Linked DNA regions of Homo sapiens: regions 2 and 3 are each linked to region 1. The links are contacts of gene promoters, found by promoter capture Hi-C in human tissues and cell types (Jung and others, 2019). All regions are on one chromosome and are shown on one strand. The core of a region is centred on a gene start or on the middle of the fragment in contact, and the rest is flanking DNA. Distances in the headings are between cores, read along the strand shown.

Region 1 (5,010 bases), core at 1,592-4,091:
TCAGTGGCTTTTGCATTCTTTAGATGAAAATGAGGTGCTTTACTATTTTGATAAAGAGGGAAAAATCCGATTTAGATTTTTTGAAAAATCCAATAAGTATTCATCTTTTTTATATTAATCCTTCCTCCCCTCCCCCACGAAACGTAAAGAATTCGGCCCGAATACATGAAAAGTGGCAGCTAATTAGCACATTGACTGCTTCCCAATGGGTATTGGTATGATAAAAGGGGGGAGAGTTTTGCTTTAAGCGAAAGAAAAAAACAAAACAAAAAGAAACAGAGACTCTAATGAAGCGTGAATGGTAATTGTGTAGTAATGAACTAACAGAAAAAGACTGAGGACAAGCAGCGAAAGCCATATATTACTGGGACAAAAGAGATTTACACTTTCAAACTAAACACAACTGCAGGCCAAGACCATTGGGAGAATACTGATGGCAGAAGCTTCTCTTCCCCGAATCGTTTTCATTAAATGGACATGAAAAGCTATTTATAAAGCTCGGGTTGTTTTTGTTAGAGCATTGAGATGAGGGAGAAAGGGAGCAAATTCCATTATTAGCAGCAGTGTGAATGGTGGTGGTGGTGGTGGTGGTGGTGGTGGTGGTGGTGCTGGGGGGTGGGGGGAGGGCGAATTATCTCTCCCCTTTAAAAAATCAATTGCTTGTTTCTTTTGCTGATATTTGGGAGTGCTGTCGTGATTTTACCCATCCCCCGCAGGCCATACCCAGTTTTTCTTCTCTGTATAGGGACTCTCCTGCCTCCTTTTTAGTTTTGACCAGTGGCAGAGTTTTTGAGCCATAGTTTGAATCATCAGTGAGGTTACAGGAAGAAAACCTGGTGGAAGCTGCCTAAGGTGTTGCTGTTTTAGGCTGGGACACAATTATGGGCTTTCTTCTAACTGCTTCTTATTTTGCAAGATCAACGGTATTTTATAATACAGGGTGGGAAAGGAGTATGAGAAGGGGTTTGGAAATCAGGCTGGAAATAGGTTGGGATTGGGGGAGGATCTAATCCCCCTCCCCCTGGGCGACCCTAGGCATCCCACACAAGAGGGCACCCCATGTGGTCTTGTGAAAAGCCCGAAGCCCTGAATGAGTCTTAAAGAGAAATTAGCCCCGGCTGGTAGGTGTCTCTCGGCGGCGTGGAGGGACTAGGGCCGGTCTGTGTGTGGCTGCCCGGAGGAGCTGACCAATTGGTCATGGTGCTGAAACCTTTGTGGGGAATCGTGGCCAAGTGCACTGACTCTGTGGGAAAACGGCGGCGTGAAGGGATGCCAACAGCTCCTCGCCGGGAAGGGAACCGCCTCAAATTGGGACCATGACAATTCCTGCTAATTTGTAGAGCAGGGAATTGGTGCAAAGTGTCAAGCAGTCACTGCTTGTGCTCAATAGGGCATCAAATTGGCGCGACGGATTCATGAATGTTATACGCCTCGCAACCTCTGAACCAGAGCATAACCCCGAGGGGTGGACGGAGAAATACGGCTTCGGAGCAGGGAGCGATGGGCCGGGGCTGGGGCGCCGCCCTGCCTCGCGCAAAGAAGGGGGACGAGACCTACCTGGGAAATAAGAAGATCTGATGAAAGGCTGAAAAGACCCTTCGAAGTAGGGAAAGGCGAAGGTCTTGGGAGGGACGCTCTGGAGCAAGGCTGGGGATGTTTCTGGTGGGCGATGGAGGGGGGACAGAAGGAGAGAGGGAGACAGAAAGAATCTGATTACGTACTTGCCTATTGTATAGCACACTGAACACACGATATAATTAGCCCTTCATCTGGTTTCAAAGACATCTTTCTTATACGTTGACAGGGTAAAATAAATCTTCCCAACATTGTCTTATCTGTAAAACTCTTTTCTTTCTCCCCAACGTAATTCTCTGCGCCGTCCCACTCTACCCCAATCTCCATCCTAGGCACTAACGAGATAGGACTGAGTGGGGAGGAAAGAAATTGCAGATTTATAATATTTGCTAATCCAATAAATATATCATATTGAGTTTAAAAAAAAAAACTGTCTCCTAGAAGCTCGAAGGCAGAAACGCAGACGTCCAGGAGCGTGCGCTCAGCGTTACTGCACCAGATGACTGCGCACAGTCTCCGACTGCGTGTGCTCAAGTTCACTCCGAGGATGGGGCGAGCCTGGAGGCTTTTCTTCCCCGGAATTGACTGGACTATTCTCACATTGCCTGACGTAGGGTCTCAGAGTTCGTGCGTATTGTGTGTGCACCGATGTGTGTGTGGGGGCCCGCTCGCTAGAGGAAACTGAGGCCAGGATGACTCCGCGCATGCCTAGTACCTGAATGGGCCCTTAGGGTTCTGACCTCGCTTACCTGTTCTGGGCCCCGAGGAGAGGATGGCGTTCACTCCAAACTTCAGAAACGTCGTCTCGCTGGCAGGGGAGAAGGCAGTCGGCGGAGAGCCGCCCCGTCGGCTGCCGGGACCCGGGGAGCCCAGGTCCGAGGCCCCCGTGTCGGTGAGGGCCGTGGGGGCCCCCTGCCTGGGCGGCGACATGCTGGCGGTGGGCACGCTGCGGGGCAGGTAGGCGGGGGGTCGGCTGATGCGGATCAGATCCTCCACCAGGAAGCTGGAGTGGCCGGAAAATGCCGACTGCAAGGACTGGGGCAGCGTCAAGGTGGGCGTGGGCCGCAGGAGGCTAGGGTACCCGGCGGGGGGCGCGAGGAGGCCGGGGAACATCATGGTAGGCGCGGGCGGGCGAAATAACCCTTCTTTCAGTGGCCGGAGGGTAAACGCCTCGCTTCCCGCCCCTCCCGCCCCCACAGTGTCCTCTCTCTTGGGCTTAGCAAACGTCTCCAAGTAACAATCCCACTTGGGCGTCTGCGAGTCCTCCGTGGTCCTCTCGTCGAGGTGATGGTTTTATAGTGGCCCGCCCGCTAAAGCACTTTGAAAAGTGACAGCTCTGACAATGAAGTTCAACAAAGTTCTCCACTCGAGCTTCATTCGCCGGAGGCTCTGGACTCTCTGATTGGCGCAGGGGTGCAATTTATGATTGGATTAGTCTTCATAAGCATGGCCCGCACAATGGGCCGGCAACAAAGGCCCGCGCGCATCAATTTTGCATATCGACCGCCTCTTTGCAATACAGTGCGCCCCCAAAGCTCTCGCCAAAGGTTTTTGTTCCGAAGCAACACCCGGGCTAATTAAATGCCTATTTAGAAGTTTCAGATGACATCTTGCCTCATAGAAAAGGAATTATTTAAAGAACCCACTAAATTTATTTGCAGCTCCCCTGCTAAGCCTGGAAAATAAATCAATAAATATTCATAGAAATACATCTTCAGGCTATCAGCAAAGTTGCCCTCCCTCTTGTGGGGGTAGGGCAATGAAAAGTTTCAAGTCAGTGGACATGAAAATATACTCCCTTTCCGGTCTCTAGCCCTATCCGTTACTCCAGCTGAAGCATAAAGCAAATGTAGGGGTGAGTGAAATCAGTGTTAGAAGTCCCATTCTGACGACTCAGGGAAACTTGGAAACGGATGCTTTGGGGCCACTGGATGTGTGTCCGTAAGAGTGGGGAGAGGTCTGGAGTTATTTCATTTCGGGAGACTGGTTGAGTTTGAGCGTTGGTGGATACCTGAAAAGTAAAACGAGTCTCCTTCAAATTCCCAGCAACTTGGAAAACGATTTTCTCTAGGAGTTTCTGCAAGGGGCTGTCCGCACCTCACCTTGCGGGAGGAGCGGAGGAGAGCGGCGCTGGGCTGCCGAGCGGCAGGATTCCGCTTGCAAAGAGCTTAGGCTGACCGGAAACTGCCTCGGGCAAGGGTATCCAAAGGCTGTGAGTGCTATGCTGGCCGTTCTCCAAACACAGGGAGCTCTCGGCAGTTTAAGTTGAAACTCACAGCCCTGACATTTTAAGCCATAGCAGCGAAGGTCCAGACGTCGTCTGGAGAGAACCCTACCACTTGCGGGGCCCTTAACTTGGCCCAAGGTTTGGCAGCTTCTTAATTAACTACAACGCACAAACGCGTGAAAACCAGAGGGAAGGGATGCGGTTCCCAAGAATGTTGGTCCACTCCGGGAAAGCCTCCCCTGAATGTGGGGCTTCAAAGGAGAATCTTCCTGGAGACAGTCCCTTCGCTTTCCTCTGGTTGGGGCTGAGGTGGTACTAAGACTCGATTCCCCCCATTTCTCTGTTCGGCGAGATAACAGATGTGTTAAATGTCCCATTCATCTCTTTAGTGTGGCTGAACCTCCCCAAAGAGAAGTGTGCAGCCCCGCCAGGCCGCCCTGATCCTATTAACCATGAACTAACTGTCACCTTCAGCTGGTTTTCCTTTTTGCTTTTTAACACAAAGCTTTCTCAAAAATCTTATTAACCAGCTTTATTTCTCTCGATGGTTTTGTTCGGGGTGTTTTGTGTTGATGATCTCCATGTCGCTGCTTTAACCATTCAATAAAAGTGCATCTGCGATTTATATCACATTAAACCAGAAACGGAGCCGGCTAAAACTCTCCCTTGATTCAAATTAAAAAGTTATTTAGGGCCCAGCTCCAGAGGCGAATTAATGCTAGAAGATGACGTAAGTGCGGAGTTTCTGAGCCCAAGACCGCTCATGCTCATGGGCAGCGGGAGAAAACCAATCAGGAAAGAAACAACTTTTAAATAAGGGGCTATTTAAATATGGGAAGCGCCTTGCTGGAGTTAATTGGAGTCCCCTGGAAACGGAAGAAGGAGATCTGTCGAAGAACGTCAAAAGTTCCTTTTTGAAGTTTGCAATAAAATAGGTGAGAAAAGCATAAGCTATCTGAACACCTGCACTTTAACCTTGCCATGAGACAGTTTCCCATTGCAATAAGACTGGCTCTCTCCCTTCCTCTCCCTTACTTTTTTCCTCAGGCCCACCTCCCTCCTTCTCCCACTCCCTTTCCCTCTGCCCCCCACCCCTTTTTCTCCCCGAGTCTTAAGGACTTGGGCAATTGCCAGTTCCCAGAAGGACGCGCCGGGGGCTTCAGGATGTTTGATTCCCTACCGGTGAAGCGCTTGTCCAAGTCTTCCGG
Region 2 (5,010 bases), core at 1,628-4,127, 120 kb after region 1:
ACTTAGGAATTTGCCTTTGTAACAACAACTGAGTCTCAGCCAATTATAGCAGCCGAATTTCAGCCTGTGGCAGGTGGCCAACTGTTCAAACTAGATTCAGTTAAGGCAAATGCAGGGATTTAACCAACTGACTGTCTCTATACCTCATTTTTGCTTTCTGTATGTCATTTCATTTCCTCTGACTGTAAATATAACCTGCACATGTGGTGGGATGAAGCATTCTGAACCATTTTTCTATTTGTTTTAGAGATGGGGGTCTTGCCATGTTGCCCAGGCTGGAATGCAGTTGCTATTCACAGCCACAATCATAGCGCACTGCACCCTTGAACTCCTGGGCTCAAGTGATCCTCCCACCTCAGTCTCCTGAGTAGCTGGGACTACAGGTCCACACCACCATACCTGGCTTCTGAACCATTTTTGATGTAAAATATTGCCCAATTCTAGAATTGCAGATAGAAGCCAATTAACATCTGCAAAACTAGTGTGAAAAGAAAAACTTTAAACAAATTAAATTTAACAGAGTTTAATTGAGCAAAGAATTCTTGAATGAGCAGCCCCCCCAAACCAGAATAGGTTCAGAGCAACTCTGGTGTGGCTGTGTGGTTGGAGAAGATTTATGTATGGGAAAAGGAAAGTGACATAAAGAAAACAGAAGTGAGGTATAGAAATAGCCAGATTGGTTGCAGCTCAATCTTTGCCTTATTTAAACATGGTTTAAACAGTTGGCTGCAGTTCTGCTGCAGAGTGAGTGGCAAGGTTGATCTTTCTCTGAGGTCGTTTCCAGAAGACCCAATCTCTGCGTTCTAGATCATGATGGTCCTCAGTTGGTGGATCATGGAAAAGCTTTCTTTACCTTGTGACAATACACTTTGGCATAATGCATTAAAGCTTGCAGCATTTAGTCGTATGGGAGTTTAGGAGCAGGAGATACATGAGGTTCTATTATTAGGGGCATAAGCCTACCAGTGACTATTTATAGAAGATTAACTTTTAGTTTGCACTGGAAGTAGATCTGATTGTCATCAGTCTGCAATACCTTTGACCAAGGCAATCCTGTCGATTCAATTAGCTTTACCTAATGCCATTGTATCTATAATATCATATTTAACTGTTCTGTAATTCGTCCAGTGAAACAAGTACTTTTATTGTTAGAGATTTTTCCAGGAGTGTCCTATGAGGGAATCACACTTTCTAATAATCTTTTAGCTATTGTTATAGCATCAGCCTTCTTCCATGGGAAAGCTTCTATATTGATATTTAAAAGGATATAAATCCTCTTAAATTGATATTTAAATATCCTCTTAAATATCAATTTTGTTTCTCCAATTCAGGTGCTTAACTGTTTATTAAATGGGTTATCATAGGTAATTTAACTTGGATATGGAATTCACTCAAATTGTCTATCTTAACAATTTCAGTACTGGCTGATTTAGCATGAAAGTCTGGCAAAGTATTTCCTTGGTATATAACTAATTCTTGTTCTGCTTGGGTTAGCAGTTTTATAAACCAGCCAGTCTCTTTATTAGAATTCCAGGAATTCTTACCCAGTCCAAACGATATTATCCTAAAGTTATCAAAAATTTCTATTCAGCAGTGCTTCTCAGGGTCCTTTCCATACTTTCCATGAACTTCCTTGAAGACACAACACTCTAGGATTTTACTTGCTTGCAAAGAACTTCCAGGAAATGCATCAGAATTCAGCAATTAACTGTGGAAAGGACTTAGAATGGTCATGGTTAAAGACACAGTTGACAAGAAAATTTGGTTATTTCTGTGGCCTATAATAATTTAACATAATAACCATAGTTATGATGGGTAACATATAAAGACCTACTAGAATTTTAGGAATCTCATGCAATTTTGAAAGATATATTAATAACATATTCATAAAAATGTAACTTGAAGAAGGTTAACCATTATTTGTTATTTGACAAGGTTTCCCATATAATTTAACATATCTAATAAGCCTATTTATTATCTCTTTTAGATGCTGCAGGGGCCCTCCATAACATCCCAAAGTTAGTTTGAGGTGAAAAGCCTTAATTCTGATTTTGAAATTTGATTTTTGGAAGCCTGTCAAATATATCAAAAGTTTAAAACACTTAATCAAAACAGAGGCCAGGTGTGGTGGCTCATGCCTGTAATCCCAGCACTTTGGGAGGCCGAAGCAGGTGGATCACTTGAGGTCAGGAGTTGGAGACCAGCCTGACCAACATTGTGAAACCTTGTCTCTACTAAAAATACAAAAGTTAGCTGGACATGGTGGTGCACACCTATAGTCCCAGCTACTCAGGAGGCTGAGGCAGGAGAATTACTTGAGCCCAGGATGTGGAGATTGTAGTGAGCTGAGATTGCACCACTGTACTCGAGCCTGGGTGATGGGAGTGAAACCCTGCCTCAAAAAAAAAAAAAAAAAAAAAAAAAGAATCACAAGTCACTGTAAAATAAAAGTCATTCACTTAGCCAAACAGATAATCAACTATTTTTTTTTAAAAAGCAAAAACCTTTATTCTTTGATAAAGAGGAGACTATTTTCCAAAAAAATCAAAAGACCTAATAAAAACGGTATGAGATAGAATCTGTCTCCCTCTCCCCACCTTTTTTTGTAGTTTATGCAAATTTGAATGAAAGTATTTTACTGTCTCTTCTTAATACTACATAAAGTTTTTTAAAAGTAAAAACCAAATTTTACTTTTGTATTAATGTATTATTAATATTAAGCTAATTTTAATAAATTTATAAATATATCATCCAATCTCAGTCAGCTTTTAACCACATAAGATCTTCATAAACCTTTTATAATTTCTTACAAGATTTTTCTTTTTTCTTTTTTAAGCTTTTTATATTTTAGTTTTATTTATATATTTTTTATTTTTGAAATTAAAAATTACCTTTAAATAACTTTTAAACTAGACAAAATTATTTTTTTAACAAACACACATTTTTATTCCTTTACAACTTTCCTCACCAAAAACATATTTTGCTTTTTATATACTTTGTGTACAGAATTTTAAAGTATCTAGTAGTTTGAATTACATATATTAACTACAATTTTAACTCTAGTAACCCAAATTTCTAGTGAAAACCTAGGATTTAAGTTTTAATTGTTTTATATTATTATTTATAGATAAAAACCATATTACATATTTTTAAAAAGATATACTTTCTCAATTTTTTTATTAACAGATCTAAATATATTTAGCTTTTGTATACCACATAAAAATAAAATGCCAAAGTATATAAACTTAAACGTATGTTTAATAATTAATGTTTCAGCTGGGCACAGTGGCTCACGCCTGTAATCCCACACTTTGGGAGGCAGAGGCGGGTGGATCATTTGAGGTGAGGAGTTTGAGACCAGCCTGATCAACATGGTGAAACCCCGTCTCTACTAAATACAAAAAAAGTTAGCCAGGCGTGGTGGTGCATGCCTGTAATCTCAGCTACTCTGAAAGCTGAGGCAGGAGAATCACTTGAACCTGGGAGACAAAGGTTGTAGAGAGCCAGGATTGAGCCACTACACTCCAGCTTGGGCAACAGAGTGAAACTCTGTCTCAAAAAGTAATATAATAATAATAATTAATGTTTCAGTATTTTAACTTAGAAATGACTCAAACACTATATTATTTTTACTTAATTTATTAAATTATTAACATGACTGTAAGATTTTAAATTACTGAAGAGTTTTGAAACTGTGACATAGATAAACTCCCTAATGTCTTTCCCAGTTTTCCTGGGTCCCAAGTAACCACATGGCACCCAGAAGAGCTATGAAAGGCAGGACCCTTCTATGTCCCAGATATAGAGTTCAGGACAGAGAACACAGTGGTGAAGAGTTGCTTGGAGGATCCAACCAATCCCAAAATGGCCAGGAGGCAAAGTTGGACCAGGGAGGATAGGGCCATGTGGGGCGTGGCTCTGCCTTGCAGCTGGTGATTGAACTGTTGAGACTATGTCCCTAGGCCTCAGCATGGTCACCTGTCCAGACCTCAAAAATCTAGAGGCTCAAACCTAAGACAGGCTCACAGCAAGATGTGTGCAAGGCTTTAGGAGAGTCTAGCAGCCAACTCTTACAGCTTTAGCTCACAGACAAGTCAAACAAGTGTGACAAATATTACAGAAGTATCAGTTTTATGACCTTAAAACATGTAGCTAAGACAGAATAAACCTGTCTGACCAGTAGACTCAGGTAAAAATGTCTCAATTATGTTTAACTGACAATTTTGAAGCCTTTTATATTTTAGTTTGCTAACAATTCGAAAACTAGCTTCATTTACCAAGGATTATCACATACATATAACATACATAGATGTGTAGATATACAGACACACCAACAATGATTTTTGAATGGATTTTTTAAAGTACAGTGTTGTTCATTTGGAAAATTCCACTATAATTTTAAATTAGCTTTAGTAAGATTTTGCCATTTTATAAGCATTTGCTACTTTCAGGGCCTAATACTTATATGTGTATAGGTAGATGTAGCCAAAAGATGGAGTACTCAGTTTTTCAGAAACTAAAAATCCCATTTTCACATTGAATCTTGCCTTTGGCTCTTGGATCCCCTTTTGATCAACTTAGTGATTTTTTTCCCTACCTAAAGCAAGCAAGAAAAGGAAACAAAGGGGATAGAACACAAACATGTCTGCAAATTTTTGAAAGCTGAAGTCCACACCTCCTGCAGTACTGACATTTGCTGCCAGTTTCTGTCTATAACCCAGTCAGACATCTAAACCCTCTATCTGGATCTAGACCAGTTAATTATCAGATTCGATCAAATCCTGGACCCAGTCCAGTTTCAGTTGTGACTTCTGAACCAAGTTTGGATAAAAAATTTGCTCAAACAAACTTGGATAGCCCAAAACACAAAGTCATGGAGCTTCAGAATCCAAGACAGCAGTGACACAATGGGCCCGGCATGTACCTCATTTGGCCACTTGATGCTTTTGGGGGTCACTGAAAGTTCTACTTCTAACAGCACTTCTGACACCATCTGTTAAAAAACAAAAA
Region 3 (5,010 bases), core at 1,229-3,728, 100 kb after region 1:
ACTTTGCATATGTGTGTTAACAGGAGAATGTGCTGTGTTTCAAATGAATGGGGAAGCGGGTCTAAATGACTTTCAGATTAGCTGGAACAGATGGAAGGGTCACAGTTGAACAACTTGACACGCCGGCATAAAGGCATCATTGAAGTGCAGTTCATTGCCTCTGACAGATACTGTCAATCAACCCTGGCTTTCTCTCAGTTAACCAACAGCCTGGACCTTTAAAGATTTAAAAAGGAATTTTTAGAAAAGTATCTTGGGGCAAGAACTTAAGTTTATCTGGTTTATTTCAGCACTTAACCCCATCTCAGACTAAGTTTTTAGAAATAGAGCAATGGATTGTAAACATTTTAGAAACTAACATGATATAAACTTGACATTAGGGGCTGTCACTAATAAATATAAAAGTTTCCCCCACATTATGTCTTTAGAGGGTCCTATTATCACACTAATTAGAACACTGTGCAGAATATCAGAATGAAGAAAATGCTATTTTTTTAAACTGTCCAACTAGAATTTTGATCAGCTGTTATCCGAAAGACATGACCAAGCAAGTATAAAAATATATCATATTTAAAATTTTTTTTTTCTTTTTTCTGGGCCAACTTGATGTGTGGCCTAGAAAATGTGTTTGTAACTCGATGTGTGTTCAACTCTTGTGTGTGGCCCAAATGATAAAAAGTAATTAACCATTGGGAGCTACTCTACAAGAAGAAGGTGGAGCTGGAGATTTAGCTTTGCGCCTGTCAGATCACTAGGAGACCTTTGAAAGTCTGAAGATCCATCCAGACCATCAGCCTAAGGTGGGCTCTACAGAAACCCTCTGTTTGCTTTCCTGCTTCAACACAGCTGATTGATTCAAATTGACATCCTGGTTCCTGTATGCTTCTATATAGGTTACTAGAAGACTGGAATGCTGGAACTTTGAGAAAGGGGATTGGTATTTGCACTTCTCCATCAGGGAGGAACGCTGAATCTTAATCATTGGCTGCCTGTGGATCGCATTGTTTAGCCTGAGAGTGCCCATGGGTCCAGAGGTGCTAATTTTTAGAAGCATAGGGAATCTTGGACAACATGAGTCATGACTGTGTGGTTCACCCTGTAGCCTGATCTCCTTCCTTGAGGCTTACATTGTGGCTTGAAAAACAGATGGGCAGTGGAAGCATCTTGTTGATGGTATTTTTATGGCAATGGTGGTATTTTATATCCTAAAGGCATGTTCATAGGACCATAGATTGTAGCAAAGCTCTGGAGGGTGGAATGCAAGCCCCTTAACTCTTGTGCTTAACCCTGTCATAGCCTCACTATTTCCTCCTCAACAATGCCCATCTTAGAAAACTGTCTCACTCACAGTCTAGAAGAGAAAGCCCAAAGAACTGCATGGCTCCAGCCTGGTCACAGCTGCTTAGACTCATGGGGACACGAAGCCCCAACTTAGCCAATTAAAGTCTCCCTTACAGGAGTTTGAAATTTAGGCTGAGAGAGCCGGTTAGTTTTGGTCATAGAGCAGTAGGCATGTTGGGTGGTCAACAAGGTTCTATAAAGCAAGAAGAATTTTAGGAAAAAATAAACTAAAAGCTTGGCAGAGGAAGCTAACCTGTAAAGAGGAAAAGTTGATTAGACATGGAGAAGGGAGCCAAGGTAAGAGATGCACATGGCTCCAGGCAGAGGGAAACATATAAACATCCTTTCTGTTCTCACAAGACCCTGCTCTACATTGTACAGTTGGGTTATAGGCAATTCACCTTTATCTGCACACTAAACTCACTTTTACCCAAGTTAATTTGATGGAGTTTTTATTCTTTATAAACAAAGATTCTGACCAGGACACCATGGAATTTTCATTTATTTCTTTAATGTAAAATATGTATTAAGCATCTGCTATGTGGCTGGCTTTGTGCCAGCCTCTGCGGAAACCATAAGGAATAAAGAGCAGGATATACTCCTGAGGACTCTACAGTTCATGCCAGCATCTCATGCATTCCCATCACCACCTCCACCACTGCCTCCAAGCCACTCATGAGATTTCTGCAGAGCACAGGGAAGGAAACCAAAGTCGTCCTCCCCTCCATCCTCTCTTCCTTTTTTCATCCATTTCTTTAGTAACCTGCCCTCAAGGCAAAATGCACTGACTATGGGTGACTGCAAGGTGGCTCTTTTCCTCATTGTTTGTTCCCTGCCTCTCCATCTTAAGACATCTTTCCCCAAGTCCAATTTTTATAGATCCCCACTAAGAAATAACTATATATTAATTGATGACTATAATTTAATGTGGTGTTTATATCACTTATATATTCCTAAAGCAGGAAAAAGCTCTCCCCTCCACCACCAAATTTAGTGGCTTAAAAGAACAGTGATCATTTATTTTGCTCATGAATCTGCAATTAGAGCAGAACTTGTTAGGAGCAACTCCATCTATGATTTCAGTGGTATTAACAGGGACAGCTTAACTCAGGACTAGAAGATACACTTTCAAAATTGCTCATTTACTTGGCTGGCAAGTTGATGCTGGTCGTCAGCTGGGTTTGGGCCTGGAGCCCTCATTTCTCTCTACATGGACCTCTCCACTAACTACTTGGGCTTCCTTACAACAACGTGTTGGGTTCCAAGAGCAAGTGTCCCTACTTAACTATGTAAGATAGTGTGGCAATGTGTATTTTCCAAAGATAAACACCATAATATCCACTTGTATGAGCTAGCCTTGGAAGTCACATGGTGCCATTTCCACCATACTGCATTGGGCAATACAATTATTAAGAGCTACCCAGTCTCAATGGGAGAGGACATAGATTCCACCTCTTATCTGAGAAATAGCAAGGGTCTAGAAGAGCATGTGGTTTGGGGGATATTATGGTGTCTGCCTTTGGAAAATATACTTTGCCACAATATCTTCTCTAGTTAAATAGCATTTTAATCTTGGCTCTATTTTAATCAGGGCTCATCTAAGAAAGAGGACACCAAAACCAGTAAAAGTTAAAAGGGATTATTAAAAGAAGGCAAGGATATCTCACAGTAACAATATATAGGAAGTATAGCTCAGCCTTGTAGGAACTCTATCGTCCTCTCTCTCAGGATCCACGTGGCCTCTGACACTGCATCTCTCTTTGCATTTGGTTCAGCCTCTCACAGGCTCCGTCATCAACATTCCTGTGGTTGGAAATGGCTGCCCAGTATAGATTCCACATAGCCTTTCTATACAAGTGCCCCTACCCCTCTAATGTCTCAGCATCTCTTGGACAAAATATATAAATGATTCAGCCTAATCTACAGATTGTTACCTTGGGTCAGAGGCCCAGCCCTATTCCCACTAGCCCTATTCTCATCACTGTGGTGAGTGCGGCCATGTCATGTTATATGAACATGACTTCCCGGCAGGGGACAGAGGAGGAGACACTGCCAAAGACAGGGAGATGGTGGTCGGGTGTGCAGAGTCGGGGAATGAAGTGGTTAACTGTGTCAGGTCAGCATCTTTCTGTGAGTATTAAATAATTTAATATAAATAGGGCTTTAAAAACAGATGTTAGCATGTAGAAATGTTCAATAAGCATTCAGTATTTTTAGGTTTCGTTTTTTTAGGCAGTTACCCAAAACATAATCACTTCACTCTCCTTTTCCCCAGTGACTAAATAATAGAAGCATTTTGGATACCCTGACTGGAACATGAGAGGAAATATTCTGGGACAAAAGTAAATTTAGAATTAACACTGAATGATTTCCATAAAAATAGTTGTTTTCATACTGAAAACAATTGCAAAAGTAATCTAGGAAGAAAAGATAATCAGCAAAAGCATGCTTATTCCCTTGTTTAGCATGTGTTCAAAATTTAAAAAGTATTAAATCGAATAATTTATATTAATACAAAATTCACAAGGAAGAATTAATAGTCAAAGATTTCTATGCGTCGACTAACCAAGGGTGAATATGCATAAAGCTGAAATTAGGTAAACTATGAAGAAAAATTGAGAGACAAAATTATTGTGAAAGATATTGATAGTATTTTCTTATATCAACCGGACAAAAAACAATTTGCAGAATAAAATTAGAAAAATGTATATAACAAAATTTTTTAAGCAACCATGGGTCTTATAAAATATTGAAAATACACTAGGCTGCCAAGAAAAGCTCAACACATTCCAAATAGCTTTAAGTGATCTACGCAATTTTAAAAGAAGTTTTATATGCAGTTTAAAATACTCTCCTAAATAATCATTGGGTTAAAAAAAAAAACAACCCTCCAACTAATGACTATTTAGGAAGAGGCATACATGAGAACACTGCATGTCAAACTTTATCAGATGTGGAAAAGTTGTACCACAGCAAGACTAATGATGTTAAAGGGGTCAGCTTTTAAACACAACCAATAATTACATGAAACATTATGTTTGAGAATAAATGAAAGAGGCCAGGCATGGTGGCTCACACCTGTAATCCCAGCACTTTGTGGGCAGAGGTGGGAGGATCGCTTGAGCCCAGGAGTTGGAGATCAGCCCAAGCAACATAGGGAAACACTGTCTCTACAAAAATAAAAAAATCATCTGGGCGTGGTGGCACATACTTGTGGTCCCAGCGACTCAGAGGCTGAAGCAGGAGGATCACTTGGGCCTGGGAGGTGGAGGCTGCAGTGAGCCATGATCCCACCACTGCACTCTAGCCTGGGCAACAGAGTGAGACCCTGTCTCAAAATAAAGATAAAAAACAAAAGAGTATATACACAAGAAAATTGAAAAACCTAAGTTCACACAAAAACTTATACACAAATGTTCATAGCAGTATTATTCATAATAGCCAAAAAGTAGAAACAAAACAATAATATCCATTTACATGAATATACAACATTTCATTTATCCACTCACAATGAATGGATAACTAACCATTTTTATGGGTCAACTAACCAGAAACTATAGAGAAAAATTGAGAGACAAAATTACTGTGAAATATGTTGATATCATTTTCTTATATCAAGCAAAAAGAACACAAAAGATGAATCATGATGAATGGATAAATAAAATGCCA

What was found. The method cuts DNA at HindIII sites, captures the fragments that hold promoters and counts their contacts. A contact is called where the count stands out against the background at its distance.
Region 2: a fragment that was not itself captured here is called in contact with the fragment with the promoter of DBX1 in region 1 in 2 of the 25 tissues and cell types used here (neural progenitor cells and thymus).
Region 3: a contact is called between a fragment that was not itself captured here and the fragment with the promoter of DBX1 in region 1, in 2 of the 25 tissues and cell types used here (mesendoderm cells and thymus).

Annotation. Positions count from the first base shown.
Region 1 is chr11:20,157,634-20,162,643 of GRCh38, forward strand. It overlaps DBX1 (developing brain homeobox 1), which reads right to left and starts at 2,842. Exons shown (of 4, transcript NM_001029865.4): 1 at 2,325-2,842; 2 at 1,558-1,659. The coding sequence starts at 2,691. RefSeq lists enhancers at 3,222-3,723, 3,724-4,223. The HindIII fragment of the contact is 9,910 bases long and covers 217-5,010 here.
Region 2 is chr11:20,279,552-20,284,561 of GRCh38, forward strand. No RefSeq gene overlaps it. Among named protein-coding and RNA genes, the nearest start is that of HTATIP2, 82 kb to the right of the region's middle. The HindIII fragment of the contact is 4,025 bases long and covers 866-4,890 here.
Region 3 is chr11:20,258,598-20,263,607 of GRCh38, forward strand. No RefSeq gene overlaps it. Among named protein-coding and RNA genes, the nearest start is that of DBX1, 100 kb to the left of the region's middle. The HindIII fragment of the contact is 4,702 bases long and covers 128-4,829 here.